5 separate regions of the Homo sapiens genome follow, and regions 1, 2, 3 and 5 are each linked to region 4. The links are contacts of gene promoters, found by promoter capture Hi-C in blood cells and fetal thymus (Javierre and others, 2016). All regions are on one chromosome and are shown on one strand. The core of a region is centred on a gene start or on the middle of the fragment in contact, and the rest is flanking DNA. Distances in the headings are between cores, read along the strand shown. Region 1 overlaps SUCLG2 (succinate-CoA ligase GDP-forming subunit beta). Region 2 overlaps SUCLG2-DT (SUCLG2 divergent transcript). Region 3 overlaps SUCLG2 (succinate-CoA ligase GDP-forming subunit beta). Region 4 holds the start of TAFA4 (TAFA chemokine like family member 4). Region 5 overlaps SUCLG2 (succinate-CoA ligase GDP-forming subunit beta).

Region 1 (2,700 bases), core at 132-2,631, 1.4 Mb after region 4:
TTTAATAAACTTATTAAAGTATAATCTCCATACAGAACAGTATACAAATTTTAAGTATACAGCTTGATGAATTATTACAAAGTGAACATATCATCTAACCTCCAGCCAGATCAAGAAATAGAACATGGCTGGATGCGGTGGCTCATGCCTGTAATCTCAGCACTTTGGGAGGCCGAAGTGGGCAGAAGGTCGGGATTTCAAGAGCAGCCTGGCCAAAATGGTAAAACCCCGTCTCTACTTAAAATGCAAAAATTAGCCAGGCGTGGTTGCAGGCACCTATAATTCCAGCTACTTGGGAGGCTGAGGCAGGAGAATTGCTTGAACGCAGGAGGCGGAGGTTGCAGTGAGCCGAGATTGTGCCATTGCACTCCAGCCTGGGAGACAAGAGCGAGACTTCGTCTGGAAAAAAAAAAAAAAAAAAAGTAAAAGAAAAAGAAATAAAACATAACAGGGATCCTGGAAGCCTCCTCCTCATGCAGTCCCCATCATTTTCCTACCCTGCTTTCTCTCCACAGGTAATTTCTTTTCTTTTCTCTCTTTTTTTTTTTTTTTTCTTCTGACTTAGCCTCCTGAGTAGCTGGGACTAAAGGCGTCTGCCACCATGCCCGGCTAATTTTTGTATTTTTAGTAGAGATGGGTTTACCTTGTTGCGCAGGCTGGTCTCAAACTCCTGATCTCAAGGGGTCCTCCCGCCTGGGCCTCCCAAAGTGCTTGGGTTACAGGCAGTAGCCACTGTGTTCGGCCCTCAAAGGTAATTTCTAATATCACAGATTTGTTTTACCTATTTTTAAACTTAATATCACTGGAATCATGTACTGTATACTCTTTTGCATTTGTTATCTTTTACTTTACTTTTGCTACTGGTTAGTCTTTTCAATTTTAGTCATTCAGGTAAGTATGAGGCATTATCTCATTATGGCCTTTCTGTCATGACTAATGAGGTTGAGCACCTTTTCATGTATTTATTAGCCATTTGAATATACTCTGTAAACTTGTATTACCTCATCTATAGACATGAAAATAATACCTTAAAGCATTGTTTTAAGTACCAACTTGCAAACCTTTCTAAAGCATAGTGAAAACTTTGGCTTTTTATATTTTCTGAGTGTTTCATTCCATTATCACTTCCAAAACTTAGATTTAGAATAAATGCACATCTCAGAAATGGGAGGTGTCTGATACAGGTTCAGTGATAATCAGTGTTACTTCATGTGTTGTTTTGAAATTGATGGAAGGTGTAAGTGACTCAGCTTACAATGATTCTCTACTCAGACAACCAAGGAAACAGTTAATAAAGGGAGGATTAAATTCATGTTTGAAAGAAGAACAAAATATAATTTGTTATAAATTTGAGAAGAGGCCAGCTCTTTTTGTGCTCTATGGTATATGTTTCAGAAACTTTAGAATGTGAAGCCAGAGAAGTAAAACTGCATGCCATATTTTCAGAATCAGGTATATGCAAATGCCTTACGTTTTAATATATTTTAGGATTCACTTGTGCTGTCTCATATTTTTAAATTATTGCACATTTAGAGTTTATTTAAGTACAAAGAAGAATATCCTGTTTTCTTTCAGATACATGCGTATAACTGAGGCACAGAGCTGTTTAAACTTAAACTGAGGTGCCGTAAAATTGTCAGGAGTTGATTTGAATAACCAGTGATTCACGGATTGAGCAGCTCCAAACCAAAAGTGCTTCCAGGGCTCCATCAAAAGAATGTGAAGGGAAGACTTTTATAGGGCAAACACGAAAGTAAAGCAAAGAAAATACTGGATTGGTTACAGTTATACTGTTGCCTTATTTGGTCTATCCTCCTGGAAAGTTCTAGTTATGTAACCATAAGTTAGATAACTAGAACTTTCTGCTTCCAATTGGTTAGCCTTAAGTTTCATTTTTCTGTAACATAGGCATTTACAAGAAATAGCTCAAGTTTTGTTTATGTCTGCAAATCAAGCAGAGTTAAGATCACTTATGAGGCCTAACTGGCTTTGTCTGCTCAGAGATTCTTCAGGTCTGGTGTCCATTTTAATTTATTGTAACAAAGCAAAACCCATTTCATTACACACCACATGTGTTTGCTGAAATACCTTATCTGCAAGCGACTGTTTTCTTTGTAGGGAAGTAGAACTCTTGTAGGAATTTATTTTCGAATATAGTGCTCAATACTTTATACAACACAAGCATTATTTTTGAAATGACTACCCTGCATTTCTATTCTTGCAGGTTTGCTTGAAAATATGTATTTTTTTCATATAGAGTGGAAAAGATTAAAATTCCAGGCAGCCATTCTTTCTAGTGGTAGTCGACCTGATAGTCTAGTCTGTGGAGAATGATTAATTTTGTGTTGATCAGCTGGTCATTTAGTCTCCACTTCCACTTAGAATAGCTCTTTATTTAGGGAAGTCACTCTGCATAAGCTAGAGGATGGAAAACCATCTACCACTCTGGGCCCTTTTCTTTTTTCCCCCGGCAGTAGTTTTCCCAGTGTGAGGAATTCATAAATGTTGATTTTTGCATATCTTTTCCTGATGTCTAGTTAATTAAAATTTCCAAGAATATCTGGCCCTCCTTGCCCACCTCACATTTGTTCCATTTTACCTGCCAATACTTCTCAGTAATAAGTGGGTCCTGGTGACTGCATTTGGTTTTGTGTCTTCCACATGATCGGTGTATCTGCTAGCTACCACATTTTCAAACCA
Region 2 (2,730 bases), core at 185-2,684, 1.2 Mb after region 4:
GAGGATTTTCTTCACTCCTAACATGTAGTTATCCAGAGACACAAAAGTACATTATTATAAATGATTCAAACAACAGTAATAAACTCTCTCCCCCCAACCCCCACTCCACTCAGGCCGACTTTCTGTAATGGCCATTTAGTCCCTCCATTTAAAAATAAAATCGGCGTCATGGTGAGTTTTCAAAGGTGCCTGTTGCATGGATCACATTTGATGAGCAAAAAATCCCTGCTGAGAGCAACCTGTCTTCAAAGTAGCTTATTTTTACCCCAGAAATCCCTGACACGGGAGGGAAATGTAATTTGAATTTGGGTCCAATGACTAGGAGCTTAGAAAGCAGGTATTGTGAAGATAGCTCCACAACTGAAGAAGCTGCCCCTCGTCAGAAGCCCAGAGGGAAAGTTTCGCCAAGAACCGAAGCCTTTTCACTGCTCCTCACACCGCGTAGTTGAAACAGCAGTTGATTTTACAGCTAATAAGGCATTAAACTGAATCTCTTAAGCTTTTCATATGGAAAGTAATTGTAAATTGAATTTGCTAAAACAATAACTTAAAGAGGCAAGACTTGAATGTTATCGGAGCAAATCAAATGATGATGCGGAATTCAAAGAGCCACTGAAACAAGTGTCTTCAAGTACTTTATCGATCTGCCAGAAGCAGCCGCTGTCTACGCCGAGCTTTGCTTGGCAAGTGGAATTATCGCACATTGATTATTCATCATGGAGTCAGCCTGTAAGTCTCTAGCTCCAGGTGGGCTGGTCATGCATGTTTCAACACTGACTCTTAGTAAAGATAAGGCCACCTTGGAAGAAGTAGAGAGATAGCATCTGGTCTGGGCTCAGAGACGGGAGTTGGTCCATTTTCAGAAGGGAATGGGGACTGAAGGAAGCAGAACATTTTAAAGTTAGCTCTTTAAAAAACGCATTTATAAAGGCGCTGATTGTACTGTTCACTAGGGCTGCTATAACAAAGTGCCACATGGTCGGGGGTGGAGGGAGCCCGAAAAACAGAAATTGGCCAGGGGCAGTGTAATCCCAGCACTTTGGGAGGCTGAGGAGGGCAGGTCACTTGAGCTCAAGAGTTCAAGACCTGCCTAGGCAACATGTTAAAACCCTGTCTCTACAAAAAAAATAAATAAATAAGGAAATTTATTTTCTGATCATTCTGCAGGCTACAAGTCCAAAATACACGTGTACTGCAAGGGTTGATTCCTTCTGAAGACTTCGAGGGAGGACTCTGTTCCGTCCCTCTCTCCTGGCTTCTGCGGGTTTGCCTTGGTATTCCTTGGCCTGTGGTAGCATCACCCCAATATCTGTCTTTGTGTCCACATGGCATTCATCCTGTGTGTGTCTCTGGATCCGAACTTCTTTTTATAAGGACATAAGTTAGAACTCCTTCTAATGTCCTATTTTAACTTGATTACCTCTACAAGGTAATTACATTCTGAGGTACTGGGGGTTAGGACTTCAACCTATAAATCTTGGAGGGATATAATTCAACCCAGAGAAGTGACATTAACCAGTGACATAAAAAAAAAGGGCACAGAATAACTCAGTAATTGTCAACGTTGGGTGGAGCTCACAATATCCTGGGGAGCTTTAAAAATTAGCTATGCCTGGGTCTCACCTTCACTGATGTTGATTTAATTGGTCTGGGTTAAGCCCCAGGTATTGGTATTTTTAAGAGGCACCTTAGGTGGTTCTAATGTGCAGCCAGGACTGACAATCACTCATTAAATGCCTCATAAAGCCTGCTGTCATTCAGAGAGGGAACTATAAAATATATCAATTATTTTAAGCATTATGTTAAGTCCTGGAACTACATTAGTGATCAACGCAGATAAAGAAAATGCAGATACAGTTTGGATCCAGAGACATACTCTGGGTGAACAACATGTGAACATGAAGACAGGGATTGGCGTGATGCTTCCACAGGCCAAGAAGCTGTATCTGCACTGATCACATAATGTCTGGCCTGAGGTAGCAGCCCCATAAATATTGATAAGAGAATGAAAGAATGCATATATGAATAAATTCAAGTCAACACAAATTCATTGTCTACTATATGTTAAGCATTACATTAAGCACTGGAGAAATGTAAGTAATTTTTTAGTAAATGAATGTGTGAATGAATGGATGAATAAATGAGATCATAATCAACATTACCTTCTGGTCTACTGATAATTTCTGGTGAGGTGTTACAACATGGGATTCAGCATTTTCAACATGCTAGAAGAAATCCATTCTAGCAAAAATATTTTTAAATCAACTAAATAGCCTGACTTCTACCTAGGAATTTTTTAAAATTGTAATGACTCATATAATTAAGACCTTAGGACCATCCTTTTTTACAACTGAGCACAAAGAAGCTTACATAATAGACCATGAACCATTTGTAGACACGTTTCAGTATCCCTACAGAATGTCCAAGAGGTATCACTAATGTGTAGGACAGAAAGATAGACAGTCCCAATATAAAAAATCATAGTCATAAAAAATGCTTGCATTCAAAATAATACTATTCAGATACCACTGCCAAGAGAATTATCCAACCTAAGATGCAAATGTGAGGATTTATTCTTCACAGAATTAGTCAAACAGAAGTTGAATAGCATATAAGGTGAGCAGTGCCGAATTTGATCAGTTTTGATAACTGGACTAGATGATTTTAGTCTTGTGAAAAGGCTTCTTTTGTCTTTTTGATTATTTGTTTTGTATTATTAATAGCTGTAGA
Region 3 (2,739 bases), core at 217-2,716, 1.5 Mb after region 4:
GTTGAAATTAATTCATTCATTGTTAAACCATTATTTTTACGTGATTATGCCATATCATGGATTGTGCTGGCTACTGATTATTAAAAAAATGGGAAAATACATAATCTTTGTTTTAGAGAAGCACAAAGATGATCCAAACACGGGAGTTGCATCTTGGGATGGGGAGAGGAAGGTAAGAGGAGAATAAAGTACATTGGAGAACAACAGCTATTCATTTCTCAGTAAGTCTAACAAAACCAGTTATCCCTCTGCAGTTAGAAAAGAAGGCTTTTCCTGGGGTTCAGCACCAACTAAAGTAGTTAAATTTTAACCGCAAGTGGTTATATGAAGAGTATCTATTTTTAACATCGGACTCTAATTAAACACGAGATACTAACACATGAGAGACTCATGGGAACTGATGCCACCTGAGGCAACACTGATTCCTGTTTGACACTTACTCCAGGCACTCACCCACTAAGTAGAATTGAATCACAGGGTCTCAAGCCCCTTCTCTCCTTTTTGCTCCTATCCCTCACTCCTGCCTGTTTAGGTGAATTCACATAAGATTATGATGTAAACTATACTCTGTAAAATGATCGTAAAGCTTTAGATGGGTTAAACAGAGTCAGTGATTCTAATTTAATGAGAATTCCCTGAGAAGTTGACATCCGAACTTGTCCTTAAGGAATATGCAGACTGGAACATGGCAGAGGCATGCAGGTGCCAATGTGTGTTTTACTAGAATGCCAAGTTCCTCTGCACAAACCTTACTGAGCCTCAGCAGGTCCTGAGTTTCTATCATGGACCCCATGGAGTCATTCTTGCTCTTGAATGTTTTTCTTCTATTGTTCTGGCAAGTTCCTCTCCATCCTACAGTTATTTGGAAACTACTGCTGTACCAAGCCTCAATGCTAACAGCATTTAATAGCTGTCATTAGAAAGCAAGCTTCTGCTTACCAGTTGTCCTACTGTGAATAGTAATGGGAGATTTCTTTTCTGGGAGTAGCCCCAATCTCTAATTGGTTTGAAAAATATTGTTCATTTCTTTGATTCTTAAGGCATTACCTTTTTGTTGAATTTCAATAAGTTTGTATTTCCATTATATTTGAATTCAACATGAGCTGCAGTCTACTGAAAAAGGTTTTCTTACTTGCCCACTTTCATCAATGCTTGCTGAATAAATGCAAGTGTAAATACCCATTAAGTACATTTAAAGCCATGTGGTAAACATTTCACATGTATTACCTCATTTAGGCCTTTCAACATCCTGTGGGCTAGGTCCTCTTTTTATTCCCATAATACAGATGAGGAAATGTTCAAGAGAGGTTCTGTAACTCGACCAAGGTCCCAGCCCTAGCAACAACATCAATGAACAAATCAGTAGACAATCTAGGGAGCTGGCTTTGGGCCTGGCCACAGCCACATGACAGCTGTGTGACCTTGGGACAACATGCCCCAATGCGCCCGATGGCTTTCTCAGCTAGAGAGCCAACCTTCACCCTACCTAATAAATAGGGTTCTGGGAAGGCTCACAATAAAAAATAAGGATTTGTGTGATGGCACTTTCTAAACATTTAAATGCTATACAAATGTAAGATATTCTCTTCTCATATGTTTGGTGTAGGTAATTTAACAGACAGAAATAATAGGATTCTATGCAGCACATATATATATGCTTTACAATTAGTGTGGCATAATTTAATTGTGACTCTACTGTTGGAATTTTGATGCCTCCAGCTTCATGAACAGCCATTTTTCTGTGGGTGTTATCAATTAATCTAGGTAATGAATTCTCTTCATTATCTCGTTCTTCATGTTAATTATACAGGATTTTCTTATGCCTAGTTATCAAGTCAGGACAAGTAGAGTTTGTTTTTTTTTTTTTTTTGGCCCACATGCCTTTGAATATGGAATATGTACAAACAAGTTAACATGATGGGTGATGGGTTTAAATTTACATTTCTAAGAAGCTCCAGTCAGTAGCTTGACTTTCCTTACATTCTTACTTATGCTATAAGCTTGGATCTCTTTATTTCGAGAGTCTTTTTTTAATCAAAAGGTTGCTGTCTAAGATAATTAAACTATCTCTGATTTTTGAGAACATACCTCTAGCATATCAAAGAGGTATTAAGGAAGCATGAAAACATTTGAATCTTTTTTACCTTTTAATACAAAACAATAAATGGTTTCTGATTTTGAAATATTGTGTGAGGCACCATGACATATAAAAAGGCAATTGTAAATCGTGGAGGAAAAAAACCTAAATGCAAGAAATTTTAAATGATACTACTCATAAAAAGAATAGACAATAATATTTTCAGAAAAAGAAGACATTATATAATAGACGAATGAATGATGATTAAATTCATTTTGAGTTGAAAAGAGTGATTGATGGGAAAATTTGGTAATGTTATATTGTGATATTTATTAATTTATTACTAATATGAGCTTTCTTAACATGTTCTGGGCCATTTTTGTATTTTATGCTCTGTATAAAACAAAAACAAAAAAACGAGCAGTCTTATTTTAATTGTCTCTATTATTTAACCAGTTATTTTTGAGACTGTTGGCGATCAGCATTTTGATTGGTAACTTTTTATTTTTGATTTCAGGTTGAAGCCATCCTTGTCAATATATTTGGTGGTATCGTCAACTGTGCCATCATTGCCAATGGGATCACCAAAGCCTGCCGGGAGCTAGAACTCAAGGTGCCCCTGGTGGTCCGGCTTGAAGGTGAGTCATGGTAGATTTCCGCTG
Region 4 (2,700 bases), core at 3-2,502:
GATGGCACATAATTGTATGTCAATGCAGAGTAAAAGGACCAGAAGATGATAAGCCAAGCCAATGACAGTGAGCAGCATAGTGGTACAGAGCAACGTTTTCTAACTTTATGCATGCACCAGCCACTTGGGCATCTTGTTAAAATGAAGATTCTACTTCTGGGGTGGGGCCTGAAAGTCTGCAGTTCTAAAGTGTTCTCAAGGGACCGCTCTACGACGCCATGCTTTGCATACTAAAGAGCATGGATTTACTAGTTACCTGTGTAATCTTCAGTAAACGATTTAACTTCTCTGTGCTTCAGTTATCTCATCTATAAAATAGAGATCAGATGAACTAATCCCAGTAAAATGAATACCATTAAGTGACACTGATTATCAGTTACTTCACTTGCGGAAGAGTGGAGGGCATGACTAGGAATGGGGTGGGAGGAGGGAGTCAAAGAAGTCTTAGCTGAATTTTTTTTTTTTTTTTTTTTTTTTTTGAGACGAAGTCTCGCTCTGTCGACCAGGCTGGAGTGCAGTGGTGCGATCTCGGCTCACTGCAAGCTCCGCCTCCCCGGTTCACGCCATTCTCCTGCCTCAGCCTCCCGAGTAGCTGGGACTACAAGCACCCGCCACCACGCCTGGCTAATTTTTGTATTTTTAGTAGAGACGGGGTTTCACCGTGTTAGTCAGGATGGTCTCGATCTCCCGACCTCATGATCCACCCGCCTCAGCCTCCCAAAGTGCTGGGATTACAGGCGTGAGCAACCGAGCCCGGCCCCAGCTGTATTTTATACATTAAAAAAGAAAAGTATTTAGGTATTCATACGTGGGCCGAGTTTTCTCCTCTCTCATACAAGCACATTACACGCGAAGCCAGATTAGTTCATGAATGTGCTACTGCACGGGGTGGCTAAGAAATCCTGCTTGCAAACCGCTTTGGGTCCTGCGTGGAGAATGGTTTCGAGTGAGAGCCGAACCCTAAATCCGTCTTCCTTATGTGGAGCTCAACGCGACTCTCAGGTATTCAGGAAGAATACCTTTTGCTCAGCACCTGCGGAGTGGTGGCCACAGCGAGGCGCTCGGGAGAGGCGCCTGGAGGCCGGCAGTGGGGGCGCGCCGCCTGAGCAGGGGTGCGGGGCGGGGAGAAGGCCGGCCCACGTGGACCGCGGGGCCAGGCAGGGACAGGAGCAGCCGGGCGGCCCGGCCAATCAGCGCGTTCCGCGGCGGGCCCGGCCCCTCCTGGTCAGCGCGCTAGCTGGGCTCGGCTCCGCACTGCTAGCTGCGCGCCGCCCTGGACGGGGCGCACCGACTGCGCGCGCGGCTGCGGGCAAACATCGGGAGTCCTGCCTCAGCTGCCGCTTCTCCAGCAGCAGCTTCAGGCTTCTCCCGCAGGAGCTTCGGGCTTCTCCTGGTAGAGACGTGGGAACTTTTCTTCTCCTGGCGAGGCTGCAGAGGTGATGGGCCGCTCCCGGGGCTCCCGCGGGGAGGCGGCACGGTGAGCGTCCTCGGGCTCCGGTGCGGCGATCAGTACCTAGTTCCGGACGCGCCGGTCCGACTTGGATGCCGGCTCTAGTCGAGTAAGAAGGGTTGGAAGGGATAAGGAGGGGCGAGAGGATGGGGTGGGGGTGGATTTGGACCCTGTATTTAGGTGCTGTCTCGTGGGCAGCCGCTGCCTCTCGGCTGGTACCGAGTTAACTCAGCTCGGTGCAGCTCCCCTCATCCCGGCTCTCTGGGGCGCCGGGGAGAGTGCCTGTGCTGAGGTCGGCGTGCAACCCGAAGTTGGAAGGGGCACTCCGAAGTAAGGATGTGTGGCTGGAGAGAGGCAGCGGCCGCTTCCAGTTTCGGGGTTCATGTCTGACAGAATCCCCGGGGGTGCTCTGCTGATGCGGAGGAGGCCACTCGATGAATTGGTATAGGGGGTGGTGAACTCACCGTGAGCTCTTTTCTGGACAAGTCGACCTTAGCGCTTCATCCCTTTAATCTGAGCTAGGATCTTTCTAGGAGCAAGCAGGTGGGAGCCGGTCAGCGTCCCCCCGCCCCCACCCCCACCCTGAAGCTCTGGTTGCTAGGATCTTGCTTGAAGGGCGCAGCGAGCGCTCGGGAGGCGTCTTCCAGCTGGGAGCGCAAAGCTTCCCGCCCAAGTGGAGAACTGGAGCGGGTCTGGAAGTTGCGTCTCTTTCCGCGGGAGGCATCTCAGATTTGCCCACCAAGGTGGCATCTCTACATTTCTTTCGCTCTTTTTCCCACTTTGCCCTGTTAATCCGCTCCTAGAAGAGAGGGCATCCTTGACCCTACGCAAGGAGCTCGGGAGAGGATTGGAACTGGAAAGCTTGATCTCCTGCACCTGGTGAGGCTGCCCAAGCCAGACACAGTGCCGCTGGTGCGTTTTCTTCTCGAATCAGCATCATTTAACGTTTAGGGGCTCCACGGAGCCTTAGTAAAGCTGTGAATCAGCTCCTAAGCAGTATGTACATGCACGGGTTCACGGACTCGCCGAGACCTAGCCTGGTGCCCATCCCCCGTCACCGAGATTCAGGGACCCCCCTTTGGTTTAACGTCTTTATCCCTGAACTCTTTTCCCTTTTAACTTTTCAATGGTCTTCCCTCTGAGACAAGCAAGGTTGATGTGATGTGACAGGCGATCCCCGTGTGTGGGGATGGGCGCCTTCGAAGCTTTGGTCTGTTTCTGTCTCTAATATCCTTGGCATAAAGCTTGTC
Region 5 (2,700 bases), core at 57-2,556, 1.5 Mb after region 4:
TGGTGGCCTCTTGGATTTGCCCTCATGGCTCAATTAGACAGAGTTCTCGTAGGTATTGAAAGCTTTTTTTTAACTACAATTTTTTGTGAACAGAAATTAAGCTAATTATTAAACCAGCAAGAAAACAGTTAAAAAGCTGTGTTTTATAGATGTTTTTGTAGAGCTAGGCTAACTAAGCATCTCTGTGCAAATAAGTTTTTTTTTTTTTTTACTAAATCCCGCACCTCATACTTCCTAGCTAATATGACCCTGGTTTAGTCTTTACACCTTAAATTTAATTCACCCAATGTCTGGATTTATTATTAATTCTGCTAGGAACTCTCTATCCCTCTGGGCATTTGAGCAGTTTGCTTATTAATCAGCTAATGTGGTAGGCTCATCTACCTCGCTACTCAGTTTATACCTCATTTCGCAGTTCTCTGCAGGAAGAAATAGCCTTTTTTCCTCACACAGCAGCTAGCAAAAAGAAAGGTCACTCAGTCACTTGAATCTGGGCCCACTCCCCCATCTTCTAGAAAGGATTCTCCCTCCTTCCACACCCACCGTGCGCACCTTCCTATCTTTATCCTCAGTGGGCATCACGGCTCACATCCGAAAGTTTCCCTGAATAAAATTGGTTCCTTTCAGCCAATTGCAAGCACAGATGAGGTCACAACTGGTAAATGGAATGAAAAAATAAACCAGTAGCATATTTAGCTTGAAGTAACATTCCAGCTAAATATTTTAAAACTTGTTAAACAGGGTTTGGGGAAGCCATATGAAGTGGTTTCTCCTGGAGGTCAACTTTAGGGTTTTTCAAATGGTTATAAAGTGGTGTTCTATGGGGTAGCTTTTATAGAAGGGCTATTTTGAACTTTTACTAGAGGAAATGGCTAGCAGCAACCTCCCCCAACCCCCAGAAGTACAGTGAGGAAAAACCCAAAAGACAAATAATAGACACCCTTTCCCCTAACATAGGGGAGAACAGTACAGCATAACAAGATACCATCTCAGCTTTATTTCTTACCTATTCAGAGGATTTTAAGATCAGGAAGCTCGAGAGAAATTAGTTATTCCTTCAATTTAATTCAATCCAATAAAAGAGTATGGAGTTCCTCTTCGTTTTAAAATTCTGACTGTGGTGTTACGGAAGGACCTTCTAGGTGAAAGGGTAACCGAAATAACAAAGGTTCCATTTCGTCCTTCAGCAAATTCAAAAGCTTGAGAGCGAGTCATACAATGTGATTATTTGATAATTCTCTCTATATTCTGATAGAAGAACCAGAGGGATATAAAAGACAGAAAGGTAAAATGGGATGGCATATGGTAACAACTGGAGGCTTAGAACCTAGCAGATCGGGGTCACCATGTTGGATGAATGTGAAGGGTAATTATGCCGGGAGAGGTCACAAGAAGAATCTTAAATGAAGCTTCTAAGGATAGGCAGGATTTTACCAGGTGTAAAGAAAAAGGAAGCTCTAGGCATAAGGATAGAAATTAGATAAAAAATAAACAACAAATTTGGAATATAATATTGTATAGCTGGAACGTTTATAGTTGACCACAGAAAGTTTCCTTCGCAGCTGTTTGCCCAAGGTTTCACCAGTGCATGTGACTTTGTATTTCAAATCAGACCTTGTTGATCATAAATTAATATTATCACCTCTAGTACTGTCCTAGACCTGCAGGATACAGCATTTACTAAGACCAATTGCTGTCTGTAAAAAGCTTCTTAGTCTAGTATAATATGCAGCCAGTTACTTGCTGCTTCTTTACTGAAACAAGTTTAATAAACCAGCAAAACAATGCCTAGCAACCCACTGTTGCTGGGTTTAAAAGTAAAGATGCTGGTTGTCATCTGCCAGGCGTGTACTTCAAAAGGTAGTTAGCCTCCCATCTAGCCTCCCATTGTTAAATCTAGTGCCTGCTAACAGTATCTCTTGACAGCTGAAAAATGCAGTTGGGACAAAGGGAATCTGAACAGACCATCCATCATCCCCTTCCTGCATTTCTTAAGGTTAGACACCCTCAATGTACCACCCAAAGAGAACAAACATGGTCTCCAGTGCCCAATTGAGCCACCAGCTGCTGACCCCTAAGTAATTATTATTTGTTTGTATTTAACTTAGGTTTTCTTTTATTATTTTATTATACTTTAAGTTCTAGGGTACATGTGCACAACGTGCAGGTTTGTTACATGTATACATGTGCCATGTTGGCTTGCTGCACCCATTAACTCATCATTTACATTAGGTATATCTCCTAATGGTATCCCTCCCCCCTCCCGCCACCCCACGACATGCCCCGGTGTGTGATGTTCCCCACCGTGTGTCCAAGTGTTCTGATTGTTCAGTTCCCACCTATGAGTGAGAACATGCGGTGTTTGGTTTTCTGTCCTTGTGATAGTTTGCTGAGAATGATGGTTTCCAGCTTCATCCATGTCCCTACAAAGGACATGAACTCAACCTTTTTTATGGCTGCATAGTATTCCATGGTGTATATGTGCCACATTTTCTTAATCCAGTCTATCATTGATGGACATTTGGGTTGGTTCCAAGTCTTTGCTATTGTGAATAGTGTCACAGTAAACATCAATACCTAGTTCACTGAGAGTTTTTAGCATGAAGGGGTGTTGAATTTTATCAAAGGCCTTTTCTGCATCTATTGAGATAATCATGTGGTTTTTGTCATCAGTTTTGTTTATGTGATGGATTACATTTA

What was found. The method cuts DNA at HindIII sites, captures the fragments that hold promoters and counts their contacts. A CHiCAGO score of 5 or more calls a contact.
Region 1: a contact is called between a fragment that was not itself captured here and the fragment with the promoter of TAFA4 in region 4, in 1 of 17 cell types (M2 macrophages). The highest score is 5.4, in M2 macrophages.
Region 2: a fragment that was not itself captured here is called in contact with the fragment with the promoter of TAFA4 in region 4 in 1 of 17 cell types (M0 macrophages); the score reaches 5.2 in M0 macrophages.
Region 3: a fragment that was not itself captured here is called in contact with the fragment with the promoter of TAFA4 in region 4 in 1 of 17 cell types (M0 macrophages); the score reaches 6.2 in M0 macrophages.
Region 5: a fragment that was not itself captured here is called in contact with the fragment with the promoter of TAFA4 in region 4 in 4 of 17 cell types (M2 macrophages, naive B cells, total CD4 T cells and 1 more); the score reaches 5.6 in M2 macrophages.

What each region holds. Positions count from the first base shown.
Region 1 is chr3:67,489,084-67,491,783 of GRCh38, reverse strand. All of the region lies in intron 9 of SUCLG2 (succinate-CoA ligase GDP-forming subunit beta), which reads left to right. Among named protein-coding and RNA genes, the nearest start is that of SUCLG2, 160 kb to the left of the region's middle. The HindIII fragment of the contact is 7,549 bases long and covers 1-2,700 here.
Region 2 is chr3:67,701,663-67,704,392 of GRCh38, reverse strand. All of the region lies in intron 3 of SUCLG2-DT (SUCLG2 divergent transcript), which reads right to left. Among named protein-coding and RNA genes, the nearest start is that of SUCLG2-DT, 48 kb to the right of the region's middle. The HindIII fragment of the contact is 1,866 bases long and covers 502-2,367 here.
Region 3 is chr3:67,400,707-67,403,445 of GRCh38, reverse strand. SUCLG2 (succinate-CoA ligase GDP-forming subunit beta) reads left to right here. Exons shown (of 11, transcript NM_003848.4): 10 at 2,595-2,715. Among named protein-coding and RNA genes, the nearest start is that of MIR4272, 180 kb to the right of the region's middle. The HindIII fragment of the contact is 1,072 bases long and covers 931-2,002 here.
Region 4 is chr3:68,931,099-68,933,798 of GRCh38, reverse strand. TAFA4 (TAFA chemokine like family member 4) reads left to right here and starts at 1,252. Exons shown (of 6, transcript NM_182522.5): 1 at 1,252-1,559. The HindIII fragment of the contact is 2,333 bases long and covers 1-2,113 here.
Region 5 is chr3:67,431,312-67,434,011 of GRCh38, reverse strand. All of the region lies in intron 9 of SUCLG2 (succinate-CoA ligase GDP-forming subunit beta), which reads left to right. Among named protein-coding and RNA genes, the nearest start is that of MIR4272, 210 kb to the right of the region's middle. The HindIII fragment of the contact is 210 bases long and covers 1,202-1,411 here.